Regions from separate parts of the Homo sapiens genome. Here all the other regions are linked to region 3. Evidence: promoter capture Hi-C in 16 types of primary human blood cells and fetal thymus (Javierre and others, 2016). All regions are on one chromosome and are shown on one strand. The core of a region is centred on a gene start or on the middle of the fragment in contact, and the rest is flanking DNA. Distances in the headings are between cores, read along the strand shown.

Evidence for each region. The method cuts DNA at HindIII sites, captures the fragments that hold promoters and counts their contacts. A CHiCAGO score of 5 or more calls a contact.
Region 1: a fragment that was not itself captured here is called in contact with the fragment with the promoter of HORMAD1 in region 3 in 2 of 17 cell types (M2 macrophages and erythroblasts); the score reaches 6.7 in M2 macrophages.
Region 2: a contact is called between a fragment that was not itself captured here and the fragment with the promoter of HORMAD1 in region 3, in 1 of 17 cell types (M1 macrophages). The highest score is 5.1, in M1 macrophages.
Region 4: a contact is called between a fragment that was not itself captured here and the fragment with the promoter of HORMAD1 in region 3, in 1 of 17 cell types (endothelial precursors). The highest score is 5.1, in endothelial precursors.
Region 5: a fragment that was not itself captured here is called in contact with the fragment with the promoter of HORMAD1 in region 3 in 4 of 17 cell types (M1 macrophages, endothelial precursors, M2 macrophages and 1 more); the score reaches 7.1 in M1 macrophages.

The regions. Positions count from the first base shown.
Region 1 is chr1:150,904,461-150,907,160 of GRCh38, forward strand. All of the region lies in intron 1 of CTXND2 (cortexin domain containing 2), which reads left to right. LOC107985204 (a long non-coding RNA gene) reads right to left here. Exons shown (of 3, transcript XR_001738231.2): 2 at 2,542-2,631. Among named protein-coding and RNA genes, the nearest start is that of CTXND2, 19 kb to the left of the region's middle. The HindIII fragment of the contact is 6,110 bases long and covers 1-2,700 here.
Region 2 is chr1:150,961,812-150,964,546 of GRCh38, forward strand. SETDB1 (SET domain bifurcated histone lysine methyltransferase 1) reads left to right here. Exons shown (of 22, transcript NM_001366418.1): 17 at 319-347; 18 at 776-908; 19 at 1,163-1,328; 20 at 1,719-1,930; 21 at 2,184-2,272; 22 at 2,436-2,735. The coding sequence ends at 2,553. Among named protein-coding and RNA genes, the nearest start is that of CERS2, 12 kb to the right of the region's middle. The HindIII fragment of the contact is 977 bases long and covers 922-1,898 here.
Region 3 is chr1:150,719,516-150,722,215 of GRCh38, forward strand. HORMAD1 (HORMA domain containing 1) reads right to left here and starts at 1,380. Exons shown (of 15, transcript NM_032132.5): 1 at 1,289-1,380; 2 at 1-23. The HindIII fragment of the contact is 2,080 bases long and covers 41-2,120 here.
Region 4 is chr1:150,887,618-150,890,317 of GRCh38, forward strand. The region is part of intron 1 of CTXND2 (cortexin domain containing 2); the gene reads left to right. It also overlaps a transcript of LOC107985204 not described here. Among named protein-coding and RNA genes, the nearest start is that of CTXND2, 1.8 kb to the left of the region's middle. The HindIII fragment of the contact is 3,730 bases long and covers 1-2,700 here.
Region 5 is chr1:150,856,421-150,859,136 of GRCh38, forward strand. ARNT (aryl hydrocarbon receptor nuclear translocator) reads right to left here. Exons shown (of 22, transcript NM_001668.4): 2 at 1,929-2,040. Among named protein-coding and RNA genes, the nearest start is that of ARNT, 19 kb to the right of the region's middle. The HindIII fragment of the contact is 364 bases long and covers 1,260-1,623 here.

The DNA of each region.
Region 1 (2,700 bases), core at 171-2,670, 180 kb after region 3:
GACTTTGTTAGTAATGTTAAACTTTTCACAAAGATGGTGAGTACCATCTTCAAACTTACTGGAGATTGGTTTTATATTTAGATTTATATAACTGGTTATGTGAATATATTTGAATACTGGAGAAATTCCTTCACTGTCTCAGAACCAAGCAAGATTCACCTGTGTTTTGTGTCCATAAAGGCAAGGGTTGAAGATAAATAAGGTAGTAATGTCTACTTTATATTTTTGGCCTTAACTATGCCAATCTAATTAGAATTCCCTGTATTTAAAATGGTTCCTTTTACTTATTGAAAGACATTTTAGTGTGTTTTATGTGTAATATCAAAGATTATTTAGCATTTCTCACATTTTATAAATGATCTATAAGGTCACATGCTTTTAAAATAGTAGCAAGTTAAACTTCACTCTTGAATGCTTGTCAAACTAAGTTATAATTTAGGATAGTCTTTAAACAGCCATTCAGAAACATAAAACTGTAGAACTGCTATGTATTTGTGATTGGGAATGATGCTTTTGCCAACTTAAAAGGATTAAAGTAGAGGAGATACACACAAATTTTAAAATTATGTGTGATCATAAGACAAGATAATCAAAAAGAAAACCACACACACACACACACACACACACACACACACACACACACAAATCACCCTTCATAAGGAACTTGCAGAATCTGCCAATTCTTTTTTTTTTTTTTTTTTTAGGCCGAGTTTCATTCTGTTACCCAGGCTGGAGTGCAAGGGTGTAATTTTGGCTCACTGCAACTTCTACCTCCCGGATTCAAGTCATTCTCCTGCATCAGCCTCCCAAGTAGCTGGGACTACAGGCACACACCACCATGCCCAGCTAGTTTTTGTATTTTTAGTAGAGATGAGGTTTCACCATGTTGGCCAGGCTGGTCTCGGACTCCTGACCTCAGGTGATCCCCCCCAACCTCGGCCTCCCAAAGTGCTGGGATTATAGGCATGAGCCGTGGCACCCGGCCTTATCTGCCCATTCCATCTGCACATCTGGGAGGAGTCCAGGGGGTGGCATGAAAACCCAGTGTAAAAGATATGAGTGCAACTTACCCTGTTGCCCCAGAATTGTGGTCAAGTCTTATTGAAGGCACAATACTACTTATAATCTAAAGAAAGCTGCAACAATTAGAGCCAGAACCTCTTCCAAATCTCATGAGAAGATGGCGTAGTCAATCGTATATCCACCAACTCCCACCCCTTGTCCCACCACAGTATATATAAAGAATAAGGCCGGGCGCAGTGGCTCACGCCTGTAATCCCAGCACTTTGGGAGGCCGAGACGGGCAGATCACGAGGTCAGGATATCGAGACCATCCTGGCTAACACGGTGAAACCCCATCTTTACTAAAAATACAAAAAATTAGCCGGGTGTGGTGGCAGGCACCTGTAGTCCCAGCTGCTCGGGAGGCTGAGGCAGGAGAATGGCGTGAACCCGGGAGGCGGAGCTTGCAGTGAGCTGAGATCACACCACTGCACTCCAGGCTGGGCGACAGAGCGAGACTCCATCTCAAAAAAAAAAGAAGGATGAACTGGGGCCGGGTGTGGTGGCTCATGCCTATAATCCCAGCACTTTGGGAAGCTGAGGTGGGCAGAGGGTTGCTTGAGCCCAGGAGTTTGAAACCAGCCTGGGCATCATAGTAAGGCCTCGTCTCTACAAAAAATTTAAAAATCAGCCAAGTATGGTGGTGGGCACCTGTAGTCACAGCTATCCAGGAGGCTGAGGCAGGAGGATCACTTGAGCCCAGGAGGTTGAGGCTGCATTGAGCTATGACCATGCCACTGCACTCCAGCCTGGGTGACAGAGTGAGACCCTACCTCAAAAACAACAACAACAACAACAAAAAGAATGAACTGGGAGGGCAACTGGGAATTCTCATTATCGGCATTATGGGATGTACAAAATTTGTGATGAGAAGCAAAGATAAAAGTACTTCCCCTTCCTCCCAAAGCCAAAGATGAGGGCATGCCAAGAGAGACATTGGTACAATTGGTGACACCAGCAAGGAGAGACTAACAGCATTTCATTCCCTAGATAGATGCTTTAAACTGTAGAACCTGCCAAACCACTCTGGTCAGGTTGGAGTAAAGCATGGTGTGAGTTTTTAACCTGTGCAAACATAAAAAATCATGTCAATTTCTTGGCTACAGAGATCTGAAAGTGGAAGGCCCACTGGAATAATCTGTGCTGGCAGGGTTTATAGGTACCTTGGCAGAGTATGCCTAGGAAGAAAATGTGGCCAATCCCCCCAACCCATCACAGTCTGGCCACTCCCCTTGAAGGACTTCAGGTGTCTCCGAAGGAGCAGGAGCAGTGGGAGGTGCCAGGAGACCACTGTACCAAGCCATGTGATATCCAACGTGAGTTTAGGTTGGGAGAATAGAGGATAAGCAGCACCATTTGAAGGGGTCTTCAATGACAGAAAAGTCCAGAATGAAGAGAAACGCTACTCAAAAAACTACAAACATCCTTCACTCTGAAACCACCAGATCTAACCAGAGTAAGACCAGGTCACCTACTCACAGTTGGCCACAGCTGATTCATTAAATAGAGAAACACTTCACATTTTCCCCTTCCTTTCTTCCTGATCCTGTACAATGCAGAAGAAGAAGCCTGAAAAGGGAGAAGAGCTAATAGAACTCTAAATCCTCTATAAGATTAGGAATTTAAAACTGAACTAAG
Region 2 (2,735 bases), core at 160-2,659, 240 kb after region 3:
CAAGAATTGATTTTAAGTATCTCTTTGATGATTATGCTGCTTTCCACATTACAGATGGTGAAACTGTCCCTGGTTGATGTAATCCTGCTCGTGGTGTTTTCCATGAGCATTAAGCCCCATCACTGAGAAGGCTTAAAGGCTCCAGCCAGGGAGTGTAGTGAGGATTTCTGTCAAGTTGCAGAGTGGTTTACCCACCCCACTTTAGAATGTGTACCTGTCACTGGCTGATGTTATCTGTGGAGGTCATTTGAAGTCTGATTATTGGACTTGTTACCCGAGGCTGTGAAAGCATTTAACCCTTCACTTGTTCTTTTCCAGGACACTGACGACCGAAACAAGATGTCAGTGTAAGTGCCTTTTGTTTTGTTTTGTTTTGAGACAGAGTCTTGCTTTGTCACCCAGGCTGGAGTGCAGTGGCGTAATCTCAGCTCATTGCAACCTCCCCCTCCCAGGCTCAAGAGATTCTCCCACCTCAGCCTCCCTAGTAGCTGGGACTACGGGTGTGCACCACCATGCCTGGCTAGTTTTTGTATTTTTTGTAGACACGGGGTTTCACCATGTTTCCCAGACTGGTCTTGAACTCCTGGGCTCAAGCGATGCTCCCAAAGGGGATCCTCAGCCTCCCAAAGTGCTGGGATTACAGCCATGAGCTACCGTGTCCAGCCCAGTGCCTGTCTTTTTGACCTGTCTCCAAATCTGCCTTCTCTCAAACCTAGGCTAGAAGCCTAAGAAACAGCCAGTAACCTGTTGGCTTCATTCCTTCCCCTCCCATTAGAGTTACTGAAAGCTCTCGAAATTACGGTTACAATCCTTCTCCTGTGAAGCCTGAAGGACTTCGCCGCCCACCTAGTAAGACTAGTATGCATCAAAGCCGAAGACTCATGGCTTCTGCTCAGTCCAACCCTGATGTAAGTCACCTCAAGCTTATTCAGAGTCTAATAAAGGAAAATGGGCCATTGTCACCTCATCAAGTCCTTCACTATAATTACTGTTAGGTCTTCTCCTACTTCTTTAGCCTTGACTTCCTGCCTTATTTTCTTTCATCCAGCATCTAATCTTCCTCTTGCCACCGCCCTTTCCTGCCAAACCGTGGGTAACAGCAAGGACTTAAAGGAGCCCTTCCCATTTACTTCTCTTACTTCTTACCCTCCTGCTTCCCCAGGATGTCCTGACACTGTCCAGCAGCACAGAAAGTGAGGGGGAAAGTGGGACCAGCCGAAAGCCCACTGCTGGTCAGACTTCGGCTACAGCGGTTGACAGTGATGATATCCAGACCATATCCTCTGGCTCTGAAGGGGATGACTTTGAGGACAAGAAGAACATGACTGGTAGCCTGGAAAAATTTTGGGAATGGTGGGAAGAAATAGTAAGAAACTTGGGATAGAGCATTTTTTAAGGAAGCTAAAGAAGTAGTGGGTAAAAATTCAGATCCTAAGAATTGGAGCATCTCTGGGAGGGCTTTCTGACTCCAAGCTAAACTATTGTTTGACACATCCTCTCTCATTTCCATTTTTTTACTCTTTCCCCTCAGCTCCTTTGTCTAGCAGATCTAATTATGCTTGAAAAAAAAACCTGCTACTTAGGATCTTTGAGTTCCAGCTTATTGGTGTTTCTCAGCTGCAATGTTGGGAGAGAAATAGGGGTAGAATGTCCATTCATGATAGAATGTCTGTTCATGAGTTGGGATGGGTCCTGACCCCATTCTCCCTCCTGTCCAGGTCCAATGAAGCGTCAAGTGGCAGTAAAATCAACCCGAGGCTTTGCTCTTAAATCAACCCATGGGATTGCAATTAAATCAACCAACATGGCCTCTGTGGACAAGGGGGAGAGCGCACCTGTTCGTAAGAACACACGCCAATTCTATGATGGCGAGGAGTCTTGCTACATCATTGATGCCAAGCTTGAAGGCAACCTGGGCCGCTACCTCAACGTGAGACCCCTCTCCCCACCTCTAGATGCTGGATTATCCCATGGTCCTCAGATTTCTTTTAACATACTCTATAAGCCCTTTTCTTGTTATAAACTCTTGATCTCAAAGGATCTTAAAGAGGTAGCTTTCTTTCAAAGCATCTATTATAATGGGGAGGGTCAGATGGCATCATTTTTCTTCCAACTCTCACTCTCCCTGCAAAGCCAGGTTCAGTTTCCCTGGTTCTTATTTGATCCTGTCCTTAAACCTACAGCACAGTTGCAGCCCCAACCTGTTTGTCCAGAATGTCTTCGTGGATACCCATGATCTTCGCTTCCCCTGGGTGGCCTTCTTTGCCAGCAAGTAAGGAGTCAGGAAAGGGGATGACTGGGGAGGGGCAAGGACCACTGAAGTTCTAAGGGCCCCTCCTCCATTCATGATCCAACTCCACCTACATATTCAGTAACCCCAAGTGCCTGGGTTATCTGCTGTCTTTGCCACACACCATCCTTTTCTTCCTCTTCAGAAGAATCCGGGCTGGGACAGAACTTACTTGGGACTACAACTACGAGGTGGGCAGTGTGGAAGGCAAGGAGCTACTCTGTTGCTGTGGGGCCATTGAATGCAGAGGACGTCTTCTTTAGAGGACAGCCTTCTTCCCAACCCTTCTTGAACTGTCGTTTCCTCAGGAACTGGGTCTTCCTGATTGTTGAACCCTGACCCGAAGTCTCTGGGCTAGCTACTCCCCCCAGCTCCTAGTTGATAGAAATGGGGGTTCTGGACCAGATGATCCCTTCCAATGTGGTGCTAGCAGGCAGGATCCCTT
Region 3 (2,700 bases), core at 130-2,629:
TAAAGTATTTTCTTTAATTCAACCTTGTGACACAAATACAAGCTTTAACTTAGAGCTCATTTTTTTCCTCTAACATTTCAGTTTACCACATATAAAATTCAAAACAATTTTATGTGAATAAATTTGAATTTCTTTAATTAAAATAGAGTCTTCAAAAACGTAGAGGTCGATATTGCAGTAGAACCATTTTGAGTAGGGTCCTGATTTGAAGCCATTTGACTAGCAAGTCTCAAACAAATGGGTTATTAAGAAACTGTTTAAGAGAACTTTTTAAAAAGGCACAATCTTCCTATTTTTATTCCCTATACAAATTCAAACAATGACAACATTGTACAGGTAGGTATTCAGTAATGAAAAATTGCCTGGCAAACCCTCTAAACTTTTTCAGTTTTATTTGTTTTTATTTTTCATTTTTTTGAGACGGAGTTTCGCTCTGTCGCCAGGCTGGAGTGCAGTGGCGCGATCTCAGCTCACTGCAAGCTCCGCCTCCCGGGTTCAAGCGATTCTCCTGCCTCAGCCTCCCGAGTAGCTGGGACCACAGGTGCCCACCATATATATATATACAATTTTTTTTTTCGAGACGGTGTCTCTCTCTGTTGCCCAGGCTGGAGTGTAATGGCGCGATCTCGGCTCACCGCAACCTCCCCCTCTGGGTTCAAGTGATTCTCCTGCCTGAGCCTCCTGAGTAGCTGGGACTCCAGGCGTGCCACCACGCCCAGCTAATTTTTGTATTTCTAGTAGACACGGGGTTTCACCATGTTGGCCAGGAAACTCCTGACCTCGTGATCCGCCCGCCTCGGCCCCCAAGGTGTTGGGATTATAGGCGTGAAGCACCGTGCCCGGCCGCTAATTTTTTTTTCTATTTTTAGTGGAGACGGGGTTTCGCCATGTTGGTCAGGCTGGTCTCAAATGATCCTCCGGCCTCAGCCGCCCAACTTGCTGGGATTACAGGAAGTTGTGTGTCCGGAACCACTGTGTCCGGCCCCAGTTTCACTTTTCTTAATCAGACAATTCAGCTGGAAGAGTTTACTAAAGAGGCAAACTTCATAGAAGAACCTATTTACGTTAAACGTTTAAATTTATCCTGACAAATCCTGAATTCGCCGTCCGTACTCACCCCATCTCAAGAACCTCTGTTGACAAGTAAGTGGGTATACATTTTTACCGCAAATGTTTTACCACTAAGACCTTAAGAAACTTAAAAGTAGGGGGAAGCTGACAGACAAAGAGATTAAAAAGTAAAATATACGCACACACACACAGATATATACACACTAATATATATTACATTACGTCTGAGGGGCGGGCGCCGGAGACCAGAAGAGCTGCACGAGGCTGCACGCGCTGTGCCCGACGCGCATGCGCTTTCCTTCAACGGTCACCCGCTGGGGCGCGACAGTGGCTTTTTGACCCCTGGTCGAGGTCACCTTTCCCGCCAAGCGCAGCGCAAGGCGCACTGGGAGCCTCAGACACGGGAAGCCTCAGCGCCACGTCTCAGGCAGTGGAAAAGCCAGACAGAAGGGGGAAGGTTAAGTAACTGCATGTGCAGTTACTGAATTTCTGATTGTTTTTCTGACTTTTGATTTTCTTTCTTTTTTTTTTTTTTTTTTTTTTGAGACGGAGTTTTGCTCTTGTCGTCCAGGCTGAAGTGCAGTGGCATGATCTTGGCTCACTGCAACCTCTGCCTCCAGGGTTCAAGCAATTCTCCTGCCTCAGCCTCCCAAGTAGCTGGGATTACAGGCGTCCGCCACCATGCCCAGCTAATTTTTGTATTTTTAGTAGAGACGGGGTTTTGCCATGTTGGCCAAGCTGGTCTCAAACTCCCGACCTCAGGTGACCTGCCTCCCTCGGCCTCCCAAAGTGCTGGGATTACAGGCGTGAGCCACCACACCCGGCTGACTTTTGATTTTCTCATTGGAACTACCACAAATTGCATTCCCACCTTCCAATCTCCTGTATCTTCAGGAAACCATTTGCTTTAGCAGTCTTCTACTTAGCCACTTCCACTGTGTTATGTCATTGGGGACAATGGATAGCTTTGAATGTAATTTGTCTCATTTAGAAACAAAATAAAATCAGAGTGGGTAGGTATTAATAGTTGGAGATTATTCAGTAGTACAAGCTTCTTAGTTTACAGATTATTATATATCCAAATACATTTCTTACCAGTGTAAACATTCAATTACAGGCATACCTTGGAGATATTGCAAGTTCAGTTCCAGACCCTCCAATAAAGCAAACAACATAATAAAGCAAATTACACAATTTTTTAGTTTTCCATGTGTATAAAAGTTATGTTGGCTAGATGTGGTGGCTCATGCCAATAATCCCAGCACTTTGGGAGGCTGAGGCGGAACAATTGCTTGAGGCCAGAAATTGGGGATCAGCTTGGGCAACAAAGTGAGACCCTGTCTCTACAAAAAATAAAAAAAATTAGGCAGAGGTTGTGGCACACACCTGTAGTCTCAGCTACTCAGGAGGCTTAGGCAGGAGGATCCCTTGAGCCCAGGAGTTTGCAGTGGCAGTGAGCCCTGTTTGAGCCACTGCACTCCTGCCTAGGCGGCAGTGAGACTTGTTTCAAAAAAAAAAAATTATGGTTACACTATTAATATCTTAATATATATATATAAATTTTTTTTTTTGAGACGGAGTCTTGCTCTGTCTGTCGCCCAGGCTGGAGTGCAGTGGTGCGATCTCGGC
Region 4 (2,700 bases), core at 147-2,646, 170 kb after region 3:
AGTCTCTTTTTGAGGAAAGTTGGGGGGACCTCTGATTAGTCCTATTAGCCAGAGAGTGTCTTTGATTTTAAGGATTATAGTAAAAAAAAGCTGCATTATTGTGTTTCTTCACCATCATCTCTCTCTTTGCACTAAACTTATGGCCAGGAGAGAAAAACTGGGTCTTTTTAGTATTTTGGTCTTCTTCAAGAATGGCAGGTCATTGCAGGTGGGAAGAATGAAGTGATCTGGAAAAGGAACACAGAGAAAGGAAAAGGTAATGGATCTTTCTGGAACTGAAAGTGGAATTGATGTTGCCAAGGATTTGTAAATGCCATTATTCTGATTCTTACTTTAGTAGGTCCAAATTTAACATAAACCAATAGCTTCACACCACACCTCCTTTCTCCTACTATAATCCCAAGAAGTGCTGCTACTCATCTCAAACAAAACAAGAACCTTAAAAGCCACTTAAAAAAAATTCTAAGACAGGTATTCCCTTTGGAAAACAGATTTTAGCTCTACCATTTTTGAAAGTGTATTTCTCAAGAAAAGCTATTTTGCATAAGAATTAAATTTGTTGTGACTTTTCCCCCCATTTTGAAAACATTTTACCTAATTTATTTTTTTTTTTTTTGAGACAGTCTCACTCTGCCGCCTAGGCTGGAGTGCAGTGGCGCGATCTTGGCTCAATACAACCTCTGCCTCCCAGGTTCAAGCAATTCTCCTGCCTCAGCCTCCCGAGTAGCTGGGACTACAGGCGTGCACCACCATGCCTGGCTAATTTTTTGTACTTTTTAGTAGAGACAGGGTTTCACCATGTTGGCCAGGCTGGTCTCGAACTCCTGACCGAAGGTGATCCCCCGCGACCTCGGCCTCCCAAAGTGTTGGGATTACAGGGGTGAGCCACTGCACCTGGCCCTAATTTTGTATTTTAAATCTTTTATTCTTTCCTTAAAGAGAGACCCCCATGTTGTATAAATTTTAGGCCATACAAAATCTGGATCACTGCATATGAAAATGAGTAAAAAATATACATGGCATACTTAGAAACAAAACAGCATTTTCCTTTCTAATAAGAATGTATTTTATTATTTATTTATTTATTTATTTAGACAGGGGCTTGCTTTGTCACCCAGGCTGGAGTGCAGTGGTGCGATCATGGCTTACTGCATCCTTGACCTCCTGGGCTCAATCGATCCTCTCACATCAGCCTCCTGAGTAGCTGGGAGGGACTATAGGTGCGTGCCACCACGCCAGGCTAATTTGATTTTGTTTTTGTTTTTTTGTAGAGATGGGGTCTTGCTATGTTGCCCAGACTGGTCTCGAATTCCTGGGCTCAAGCAATCCACCCGCCTCAGCCTCTCAAAGGGCTGGGATTATAGGAATGAATCACCGTGCCTAGCCGATCTCACTCTACTTCTGAATTCCAGTCCCACATTTTAGCCTCCTGAGCATATTGTATCAGTGCATTTAAATTCAGCCTACCTCAGACTGATTTCATCCTAGTACCTTAAAATATCTGCCACTCCTCTGGGTGCAGTGGCTCACGCCTGTAATCCCAGCACTCTGGGAAGCCGAAGCGGGCGGATCACGAGGTCAGGAGATCGAGACCATCCTGGCTAACAGGATGAGACCCCGTCTCTACAAAAACTTAGCCGGGCGTGGCAGCGGGCACCTGTAGTCCCAGCTACTCGGGAGGCTGAGGCAGGAGAATGGCGTGAACCCGGGAGACAGAGCTTGCAGTGAGCCGAGATCGCACCACTGCACTCCAGCCTGGGCGACACAGCAAGACTCTGTCTCAAAAAAAAAAAAAAAAGCAACTCCTAAAATAAATAATTCTATGAATGGCATCATTTTTCTTTCAGCTTTCCAAATTTAAGCCCAGGAGTTTTCTTTATCACTTCCTTCTTCTTCCCACTACATGTCCACTTAATTTCCAGGTCGTCACAAATTCTCTTTCACAATCTCACATCCATTCTTTCCTTTCTGTTACTCACTGTGTTATCCTAGCCCTTGTTTCCCCTTGTTGAGACTGCTAAAACTCCTCTTGTTGTTTTCACCCTATAGTGTGTGTTAGCTCCAATACTTTTTACGCACTCTTGCCAGTTATCTTCCTGAAGTATGGCTTTGATCATTTACCTGCCTGAATTCAACAAGTATGAACTGTTGTATGCACTATGTGCCAGACACCGATAGAGATTCATATTAATTCATTCATGTAGACGTATTAAATACATAAAATATGCCAGCCCTCCCCAGGCACTGAATCCATGCTATGAATGGGACAGACACCTAGAGCTTACATTCTAGTTAGAATCAATGGGATACACAGTAAGATATGGCCCCTGCTCCCAAAATGTTTATCTGCTCAAAACCTTCCATTGCTTCCCGATACCTGAAAGAACAAAATTCAAAGTCCTTGCCCTGACTTTCAAGGTTCAGTATGGTCCTGTCTTAAGCAACAGAAGTATAGTATCTAGATGAATAATCTTGAGTTTGCATGCATCTTGTATTCTGTATTGGGCACCACATTTTAAAAGGAATATAGACACACTAGAAAATCTTCAGTAGAAAAAGGGTAGAGTGGTAGACCACATCCTCTGAGAAACCAATCAAACGTACTTAATAGCTATTTTTAAATTACTGAAACTCTTGTGTATGGAAAAGATATGTGTTGCCTTAAACAGTCCTAAGTAAAAAGTGAAGCTGTACTAAGAA
Region 5 (2,716 bases), core at 192-2,691, 140 kb after region 3:
CAGAGCGAGACTCCATCTCAAAAAAATAAAAAATAAAATAAATAAATAAAAGAAATATTAGGCCGGGCATGGTGGCTCATGCCTGTAATCCCAGCACTTTGGGAGGCCAAGGTGGGCATATCACCTGAGGTCAGGAGTTCGAGACCAGCCTGGCCAACGTGGTGAAATCCCATCTCTACTAAAAATACAAAAATTAGCTGGGCGTGGTGGCGCACGCCTGTAGTCCCAGCTGCTTGGGAGGCTGAGGCAGGAGAATCCCTTGAACCAGAGAGGTGGAGATTGCAGTGAGCCAAGATCACACCACTGCACTCCAGCCTGGCAAAAGAGCAAGACTCTGCCTCGAAAATAAATAAGTAAATAAAAATAAAAGAAATATTAAAAGACTTCTTTTAGGACAGGTGAAGTGGCTCACGCCTGTAATCCCAGTACTTTGGGAGGCCAAGGCAGGAGGACTGCTTGAGCAGGAGTTTGAGGCTGCAGTGGGCCATGATTGTGCCTCTGCACTCCAGCCAGGGTACAAGACCCTGTCTCTAAAAAAACCAAAAAGAAAATTTTTAAAGACTTCCTTTAATATATTTTTCTGATTACCAATCATACATGTTCATTTCAAAAATCTGAAAAATCAAAAACAAAAGAAACCGTAAGTCACCCATAATACTATTACCCAGAAATGTGGTATATATTCTTTCAGTTTTTTCCTATGTACATGTTATACATATCTTTTGACAGTGAAATACTATAATACTGTAACCTTTCTTAATAGATTGTGAACATCTTTCTACACTGAAACATATTTGTCGCTTATAACTACATAGCATTCCATTTTAAATATACTATGACTTTCTCAAGTGATGCCCTAATTTTGATATTTATAATACTTTTGTTTGTTACTGTACATAAACATAACACAGTGTTTAAAGAGTAAGCTACAAAGCTAAACCCCTAAGGTTCATATCCTATATCTGACACTTACTAGCTTTACAATCTTAGAAAGTTACTTATTCAGCTTATGCTTCAGCAAATGGTTAAAATCTGTAAAGCTACTGAACATATAACAAGTCTTAATATGTTACTCATGTTACCACTGAACCCAAGCATCACTCTTCCATTACTATTGGTGGGACAAAACTTAAAGACTGGTTATAATTAGCTGCACAATTTTTAAAAAGAAAAAGAAGGAAAAAGGAAAATTTAATACCAAAAAGTAAATAAAATAGTGCCCATTCTTCCAGGCCCCTCTAAGGCAACCTCCTTTCTGAAGCTTTTCTCAGTCTTTACCAACAAATGCATATTTCCATACACAGAAAAACATAGTATCAAATTTGTTCCTAACAAAACTAGGCATATTCTATCATATATTCATGTGTATAATAATTATTTCTATCAGAACACAACCAACTTAGAAACAAGGACTGTGTCTTATTCATCTTTGTATCCTACTTGGAATCAGCACAATGCCATAACACTAATTAGGAATTTAATAAATACTTTTGGAGCTGAATGGACTCTGCATTCCAAACCAAGCAACATATCAATAACTTAGAAGACAGCTATTCTAGAGCTCAGCATTCTCTAAATTCAGAAAAGCAGCCTACCAAAATGATTTTGGGAAAACAGAAACAAAGCTTAATGAAAGCAGCAAACAGTTTTCTCAGGCATAGTAAAATCTCTGGGCTTAGCTACAGTCCTTTATCTTACGGAAATTTTGGTTTAAAAAAAGAACTGCTTACGGGAAACTTGGATAAAAACAAATTCTTCATAAACAAAAATACAGGGACTAAGGAGACTTATATGACAGTAGTGTAGTAAGTAATCAAGTTGAAGTGAGATGGTCAGGAATAGCGAAGTGAGTTCAGCAACTAAATAAATTCAGCAACTAAAGTTGGTTTATAGGAGAGATATTCATAACACACTACACTCAAACTCACCCTGGTCGCCGCTTAATAGCCCTCTGGACAATGGCTCCTCCACCTTGAATTCCAGGTCCAGAGTTTCCAGAGGCAATGGCTGGACCCAGTGATGGTACATCTGATGTCATTTCTGTCAGGAAAATAATGAAGTAAACATTTTTAAAAAGACAGTCCTTGCTTATCATCAGTATCATCAAGTTAGCTAAAAGAAAGGTTCAAGCTATAGACAAAATCTCAGCAGTTTGCTAAAAATCCCAAATGCTCATATCCAGATTGCTCTTCTTGATTTTTTTTTTTTTTTTTGAGACCAGGTCTCACTCTGTTGCCTGGGCTAGAGTGCACTGGTATAATCACTGGTATAGGTCACTACAGCCTCAAACTCCTGGGCTCAAGCAATCCTCCCACCTCAGCTTCTGGAATAGCTAGGACTATAGGCCCGCACTACCACACCCAGTTAATTTTTTTTTTTTTTTTTAGAGATGGGGTCTTGATATGTTGCCCAGGCTGGTCTTGAACGCCTAGCTCCAAGAGATCATCCTGCTTTGGCATCCCAAAGTGCTGGGATTATAGGCATGAGCCACCACACACGGTCTCTTCTTGAATTCTTACACTGGTACAAGATATCCCCATACTTCAGTTCCCCCCATGTCATAGAGTTTGGAAGAAGTACTATATTCTGCAAACTTCATGTTAAAAAGCTTATACATACATAACAATATACTAATATTGTATAGACTTAATAATATACTAATTTTAAAAAAATACATACATAAATGGGTTTATACATTTCATTCATGCAACAAATA